Linked DNA regions of Homo sapiens: region 1 is linked to region 2. The links are contacts of gene promoters, found by promoter capture Hi-C in human tissues and cell types (Jung and others, 2019). All regions are on one chromosome and are shown on one strand. Each heading gives the region's core, a stretch centred on a gene start or on the middle of the fragment in contact. The rest is flanking DNA. Distances are from core to core; before and after follow the strand shown. Region 1 overlaps AMD1 (adenosylmethionine decarboxylase 1). Region 2 holds the start of PPIL6 (peptidylprolyl isomerase like 6).

Region 1 (3,950 bases), core at 1,358-3,857, 1.4 Mb after region 2:
GGTGGAGCCCGAGTTCCCTCAGCTTTCAGTTGGGGGCAAGTCTGCGGCCTGGGGTCGCTTCGGCGGCCTTGGAAGGTGCGCGGTTTGGGGGAGAGCGGCCATGTCCACGCGGGCCGGAGCCGGCTTCTCCCGCCGTGGTTGCCGCGCCTGGCATTGCCCTGGGGGAGGGGAGGAGGCCGGCGCGGCCGCGTGCTCAGGTAACGTCCCGCGCTGGGCGGCGGGCGGCGCGGCCCGGGGTGGTTTTGCGGCCCGCGCCTCCCGACATTTCCCTCCGTAGTAGTTGGCGGCAGGGGCCCCAGGTGGGGGTCGGGGGCGCCTGCGCGGGTTGCCTCCGGCAGGTGTGGCTCGGCGGGCTTAGTCAGGCGCTAATTCGGGCGTGCCGGCTTCGGGGAATGGAGGGCGGGAGCGGCGCTTGTTCTTGCCTCGGGCGCGGATAGGAGGGGCCCTCCCGGCCTTGTCTGAGGGGCTGGCGAAGAGGCCTCCCACCCGCGGCGGCCGCGGGCAGCATGTGGCGTTCGGGCGGCGGGGATTGGGCGGGAGCAGTTATGTCGCAGTGGCGGGGCCCCACCGCTCCCCTAACATGCTCTGCGCCAGAGCCTTTTCGGGGCGGCTGGGCAGACGGCGCAGTCCCCGGGGCCGCCCTCGACACGGCCGCTGAGGCCGCTGGGGGCTGCTCCCCAATCTCTTGACCTTGGGTTGTGTAACCTGCTACGGAGCCGGCGGAGCGGGGCGGGAGAGGTGCGGGTGGAGGGAGGCCCGCCTGCCCCAGGACATAATGCCTCTAATGCCTTAAGCTTGAGCAAAGGAATCTGGGGCCCACTCCCACTGCGGGCCGTCACGCGAGAGATACTTGGGCTGACCGCGCCGAAGAGGCGTTTTAGTTGGTATTGCTGTGGAAATCCATGCTTATATAAAAGCCCAGAGATCCCGTGGATGCTTAGGCCTTGTTCCTGGCGGCGGTCGCACCGGTGGCCACCAATGGCCTTCCTAGGCCCTGCCACCGGATCCCTGGCTCCTCTGCGCACGAGTGCGGCTAGGGTGGCGGTGCAGCGGAGTAACTGGCGTGGCCAGCTTCATTGAGAGGCGGCGACCAATGGGCTCCTGGGCCGCACTCAGAGCCTGGCCCCAGGGTGTGGACCAATGGGCGTTTTAGGAGTGTTAGCTGTTCTTGGAGCTGTCCCTTGACAAAAAGCAACTGGAAAAGGGAATCCAGGCAGACACGTGCTACCGAGACTTTAAGGCACGACGGGAAACCCGGTTTCTAGCAGTGTATCTTGAACGATTCCATTGTAGAAAAAAATACTAGTCATAGCTAAAATGTCACACGTCTCATTTTTTTCAAGCTTCGTGTGACACTTAAAATGTCTATAGCGCTTACTACGTGCCAGGCTCACGTGAGATTATAGGAAGCGGACTTTGGTCATGGAGAAGCTTAGTATTTCCTTCATTTCACAGATGAGAAAGATGGTATTTGTGATAGACGTTTGGTAAAACGATTGTGATCAGGATAATTAACCTAGAAAATCTTGGCAAGAACCTAGAAAATCTTGGGTAAGAACAGTCCTAGAAAACGAATAACAGAAGTTGTCACTTTGGCTTTTTAAATGTTTGAGCCCTTAAATAATAGTAAGTACATGTTCTTAATAAAGGGAAGAAGATTTTGTTCTCCCCAAGTTCTTGGCGGTTTGGCTGTTTAGAGCTTCCTGAGTCAAAGTGGAGAGAGGAGGAAGAGGCTTTTTACAAAGCAGCCTGCTTTCTTTAAATGTTTAAGAACCCTTTTTACTTTGTACTTTAATCAGCCCAAATTGTTTTACTGCTCCAGTGTGGCTTTTAAAATCATGGCCAAAGTTAAACTTTGAAGGACAAAATATTCCCTTGTGTAGATGATTTAGTGCCATCCATTTTGTGGACATGTAACATTCATTGAACAACTATTGGTAGTACACTGCCACATTGTAACTGTTGTAGATAAAGCAAGTTAAGCAAGAACTGAAAAATATGTTGATTTAACTAAGGTCCCGTGATAACCTTCGTTGGAACATTTTTCAGTGACCACTCAAGTGGTTAGGTTATTTACCAGGATGTTTAAAAAAGCCTGAAATAGTAGGTGTTCCTTGAATCACCTAAAATCAACAGCCTAGCAAAGAGAGTATCATGGACGGAGTCCGGTCGGTGGGGACATGGGGCCAGCCCCAGAGACCCCAGGGAAGGATAATCGGTCATCTAGAAGAATAAAGCGTGACATGTTTTACTCAAATGACGTGATTAAGTGCATAGCCTCTGGAATAACAAGATTTGAATTCAAACAGCATTTAATAGCTGTGTGAGCTGTTTCCTCATCTGTAAAATGGAGACAATAATGGTACATAGCTCATGGAAGTTGTGAAGAATAAATAAGTTAATATGTTATATGTAGTACGTAAACTGTTATCTTTAACACTTTAAAGACAGGATCCCTCTATAGCCCAGGCTGGAGTGCAGTGGCAGGATCATGGCTCACTGCAGCCTTGACCTCCTGGGCTCTATTAAGATGTGAATAAACTAAAAGTAGGTTAAAAGATGAACAGATGGAATTAAACAAATCTGTTTATAAAGCATAATAAACATAGGGACATAAAAACGATTAAGAGAATGAAAGGCTTAAATGTCCAAAGAGAGCATTAGTATTGATGCTAAAGACAAGGATAACAAGATAAGGATATGAGGGAGAAAAAAATCCTGGAAAAATAGCTTTCCAAAACTAATGCAAGAAGAAATGGAGAACCCAAAACAGTCCTAGAACACCTAAATAACTTGAATCAGTCAATCATCTAGGCCCAGATGATTTCACTGGAGTGTTCTGTATAATTCAAGGGAGAAAATATCCAACTTTTTTCACGCATTCTTCTGGGAAACAACATACTTCCCTCGGTTTTCTCATCCCAAAGTCTGAAATATTTTTTTCTCCTACACGATATTTACCTTTCATATTTAGATCTGCAATCCATCTGGAATTGATTTTGTGTGTGGTGTGAGGGAATACACTTTAAACAAACTTGGCTCATCAGTCCAAGCTTTAATGCTTGGAATCTTTTCTGAATGTACACCTTTTTACTAAACACTGCTTCCCTCTTGTAGACCATTTAAGATATTTTATCTTAAGTGAACAAATTATGTAATACTGAGAAATTTAACAAAGAAAAATCTTTTATGATATAGCTTGGGTTAAACAATACTGTTGGAGAAAAGCAGCAGTCCAGGTATATCCAGATGAATAAAGGACAATTAAGGGAGAGGCGGTTTCTTAGGGGTAACCTGCAGTTTTCTCTGATTTTTCAGATTTTACGGATGTTGAATAAAAATCAGTGACCATTTAAAAAATGGTTTAGTTGTTGGATCAAAGTGCTGTAACAAACAAAAGCTTTTTATAAGACATGGCAGCTTTAGGGAGGGTGAGAGTAGTAAGAAGGAAATCTGTTAGAAAATAGAAAATTTTGCTGAGAAAAGAATGATTTTTCAGGACTGGAAATCCTATTACTGTGCTTTACTCAGATTTTATAAACTAAAACATAATTTTTAGTAAAGGATTGGGGCAGTTGTAAAGATAGTCATACCTCAGCTTAACTTTCCCCAAACTCATGACTTATTTGACTACATCATTATGCAGCATTATTGCAATATCAATAATTTACATTGAAGGAATTTACAACCCGTTGCCAAAAAACCTTTTAGTGTAATGTTTCAGAGTAGAAATGCTTCCTGCTAAAGAATAAAGCTTCTCGTTACATTCCTCCCAGCAGTTTCAAAAAGGTTTCATGGCTGGGCTTGGTGGCTCATGTCTAATCCCAGCACTCTGAGAGACCAAGGAGTTTGAGAGCCCAGTCTGGGCAACATAGTGAAATCCTGACTCTACAAAAAAAATTGAAAAATTATCTGTGCGTGCTGGTCCATCCTGGTGCGTGTCTGCATCC
Region 2 (3,822 bases), core at 171-2,670:
AATACATTAACTTTGTAATTAACTTCATGGCCATTAACTTTGGTAATAAAAGGTTGCTGATCCCGTCTGCCCAAGCAACACAGACCACAATTTCTACTTTTGATGATTCATGTATTATTTTCACAGACTTCTGATCACTTGTTTTCTTTTTATTATTTATTTATTTTGAGACGGGGTCTGGCTCTGTCGCCCAGGCTGGAGGGCAATGGCGCGATCTCAGCTCTCTGCAAACTCCGCCTCCCGGGTTCAAGCGATTCTTGTGCCTCAGCCTCCTGAGTAGCTGGGATTACAGAGACCGCCACCACGCCCGGCTAATTTTTTGTATTTTTAGTAGAAACGGGGTTTCACCATGTTGGCCAGGCTGGTCTAGAACTCCGCCTCTGCCTCCCAAAGTGCTGAGATTATAGGCGTGAGTCACCGCGCCAAGATATCTTCTATTTGGGAACATTTTGTTGTCAAGTATCCAGCTGGGTACTTCGGGAGTTAAAAACATTAATTAAGGCATGGTCCTGGAGTCAAGTGAGCTTCGGCGAGAAGTTTGCCATGGACAGCATTTCTGGAGCAAACCCTGTAAGAAGGGCTGAATTCTACATGCCGACATTTCATACATTTCTCCTGCATTTCAGGTTGTAAGTGTGCTGCAGCATGACTGATCTGGCCAAATTCTTCCAGTTTCCTCAAGTGCTTTTCCTTTAGTATCGTTCTGAGTGTTTACAAAGAAATGATTTTCCAAAGCACTTGTGAAGCATCTAGTTCGATTGGAACGCAGTGACGGCTCTATAAAATTCAAAGAAAAGAATCTCCCCGCATGAATAGTTAACAAAAATCGCTTGGGCCGAGGTGGCGGGGTTGTAAAAATTAGCTAGTTATATAGTAATCATTTTTCCATAAATTTAAATATCTCTAATTAAAGAAAAAATTGACGTAGAACAAAATCTGCGGGTGTGTGTGTGTGTGTCTCGGAGGGGATTACCTTATCTCCCAGCGCGGTTCTGAACCCTTCCTTCGCTCAGTTCTCCCTTTAAAAGTCGCCAAGTGGAACGCCCGCCCCCGGACCCGCACTTGCCCCCCTATACTCTCCTCCCGGTCCTCCAGACGGAGCCCGCCCGGCCAGGACACGCCAGCCCCTTCCTCGGCCGGTGGGGCCTCGACCCCCGCCGCCTCGAGGAGGCGCGGCGCCTGCAGTCCACGCGGCCGAGAGCGGGTAGCGGGGAGGGCCGCCCACGACGGAGGTTTCTCTGTGGTTACCTCAGCGGCGCTCTTCGCAATCTGAAAGTTGGGGCAGCTGAAGAGCCCCACCACCTTCACCTGCAGCGGCCGCTCCGGCAGCGACGGCGAGCCGCACCTAGCGTGCGGGGGCCCGCACGGCTGCGGCCTTGCCATGGCCGCGCCCGGGGACGCCCGGTGACCCCAAACACTGCGCGTCGCTCCGGCAACCGCGCGGCCCCGCCTCCGCCGCTCGCAGGAGGCGGGGCCCAGGGGCGGGTCGAGGGCGGCCCGTGGCGGCTGGGCCTTTCCTCAACTTTGCGCCTGTTGCTGGGCCGCCGGCGCGCGGGCGGCCGCGACCGCCGGGGACGAGCTTGGAGGAAAAGGAACCGGGAGCCGCCCACCCGGGGGCGCTCTCCGGACCCCCAGGGTCCTAGCGCGCGGCCCTTACCGAGCCTGGGCGCCCGGATTTCGGCAGCGGATCGCCTTTCCGGGTTGGCGGCCCGCCTGATTGGGAACAGCCGGCCGGTTGCCGGGGGAACGCGGGAGTCGGGCCCGACCTGAGCCACGCGGGCTTGGTGCCCACCTGTGCGCGCCGCCTGCGAAGAAGGAACGGTCTGGGGAGAAGGCGCCGCCGGCCGCCCCCGTCCCCACCGCGGCCGTCGCTGGAGAGTTCGAGCCGCCTAGCGCCCCTGGAGCTCCCCAACCATGAAGCCCAACTTCTCCCTGCGACTGCGGATCTTCAACCTCAACTGCTGGTGAGTGCGTCTGCGGAGTGCGGTCTGGGGGCCACCTTCCGTTCGCACCCATGCAGCCTTCCTCCCCCTATCCCGCCCCACGATCTCAGGGTGTAGGGAAAACCCGAACCTCCAAAGTCCACATCTGGCCCCAGCGCCGGTGGTCCCAGCAGTCGCCTCCCCTGCCCCGCTCTTCCCTTCCTTAGGGGCATTCCGTACTTGAGCAAGCACCGGGCCGACCGCATGAGGCGCCTGGGAGACTTTCTGAACCAGGAGAGCTTCGACCTGGCTTTGCTGGAGGAGGTGAGATTGTGCAGCACGGTGCGGAACCCAGGCTGGGAGGAGGGACAGACCGTCCCACTGGGGAAAGACCAAGCAGGCATCCTCACCGCTTCCCTCAGGTGTGGAGTGAGCAGGACTTCCAGTACCTGAGACAGAAGCTGTCACCTACCTACCCAGCTGCACACCACTTCCGGAGGTGAGAAGCCCACTGGCCTGAAGCCTGTTGTCATCCCAGGAGGCTCTTGGCCCTGCCAGCCCTTCCCTATCCTGCCTGCACTCTCCAGTCTCCTCCAGCCTCCTCTCCCTCTGGATGTGAGAGAAGGAGAAGGGTGAACCAAGAAGGTCCTATGACTTCAGCCCATTTCAGCTTTGTTTTCTGGCTGCCCTATACTCCTCCAAAGGCTGTCGCCTTGGTTCTAGGGCTAGTCCCAGCAGTAGAAAAAGAAAAAAATAGCTGATCAGAGCTGGAAGACAAGGGAGGGGAAGAAGGCTGGGTGTCTCTCCCTGTTTTTCTGGTTATTAAGCAGGGCTTGGCTTTCAGCGGAATCATTGGCAGTGGCCTCTGTGTCTTCTCCAAACATCCAATCCAGGAGCTTACCCAGCACATCTACACTCTCAATGGCTACCCCTACATGGTAAGGCAGACCTTTGACCTCTTCCACCTCCCTTCCCCACCTCCAGTAATACAAGGTAGAGGAGGCAGCCCTCTGAGAGCTGCAGGGGATGGGCAGAAAGATGGTGGCGGTGCCCTGAGTTTCTATCTCCTCCTGCCTGCAGATCCATCATGGTGACTGGTTCAGTGGGAAGGCTGTGGGGCTGCTGGTGCTCCATCTAAGTGGCATGGTGCTCAACGCCTATGTGACCCATGTGAGTGAAGCTGGCAGTGCCTAGGGCTGGGACATGCAGCCCAGTCCTGGGACAGAGAGATGGTACTTCTCTAGCTCTCATACCTGGGGATGAGGTGTGGGGGCAAGATCTTATAAGGAAGCAATGGGCAAGGCTTATCCATTGTATACCAAACACCATGCCAAGTGACAGACACAGGCTTGATTCAGACATACCCCTGGGACCCTCAGTCTTATCTGCTGTGATCTCATCTATCTTGCTCAGCTCCATGCCGAATACAATCGACAGAAGGACATCTACCTAGCACATCGTGTGGCCCAAGCTTGGGAATTGGCCCAGTTCATCCAGTGTGTGAGCCTGGGCTTGAAATGGGAAGTGGGATGGGACCCAGGGGCTGAGGGTGAACAAGGCCCCAGTCATGGGGAAGAGCTGGTGATGGAAGAACTCCCGCCTCACCAACCTGGTTCCCCCAGCCACACATCCAAGAAGGCAGACGTGGTTCTGTTGTGTGGAGACCTCAACATGCACCCAGAAGACCTGGGCTGCTGCCTGCTGAAGGAGTGGACAGGGCTTCATGATGCCTATCTTGAAACTCGGGACTTCAAGGTGAGGACTTGCCTGTTACTTCCCCACCTATATCCCCAGCTTCTCTCCCTCCTTCTCCCCCACATCCTAGCATGAGCCAATGATTCCCTTAGGGCTCTGAGGAAGGCAACACAATGGTACCCAAGAACTGCTACGTCAGCCAGCA

The links. The method cuts DNA at HindIII sites, captures the fragments that hold promoters and counts their contacts. A contact is called where the count stands out against the background at its distance.
Region 1: a contact is called between a fragment that was not itself captured here and the fragment with the promoter of PPIL6 in region 2, in 1 of the 25 tissues and cell types used here (dorsolateral prefrontal cortex).

The regions. Positions count from the first base shown.
Region 1 is chr6:110,875,285-110,879,234 of GRCh38, forward strand. All of the region lies in intron 1 of AMD1 (adenosylmethionine decarboxylase 1), which reads left to right. Among named protein-coding and RNA genes, the nearest start is that of AMD1, 2.5 kb to the left of the region's middle. RefSeq lists enhancers at 1-638, 639-1,353 and silencers at 76-325, 386-455, 486-675. The HindIII fragment of the contact is 3,078 bases long and covers 1,069-3,950 here.
Region 2 is chr6:109,439,208-109,443,029 of GRCh38, forward strand. It overlaps PPIL6 (peptidylprolyl isomerase like 6), which reads right to left and starts at 1,421. Exons shown (of 8, transcript NM_173672.5): 1 at 1,249-1,421. The coding sequence starts at 1,383. SMPD2 (sphingomyelin phosphodiesterase 2) reads left to right here and starts at 1,517. Exons shown (of 10, transcript NM_003080.3): 1 at 1,517-1,964; 2 at 2,150-2,246; 3 at 2,345-2,421; 4 at 2,767-2,860; 5 at 3,003-3,092; 6 at 3,336-3,418; 7 at 3,545-3,677; 8 at 3,770-3,822. The coding sequence starts at 1,915. RefSeq lists silencers at 1,012-1,831, 1,473-1,678 and enhancers at 2,092-2,161, 2,322-2,401. The HindIII fragment of the contact is 4,118 bases long and covers 1-3,712 here.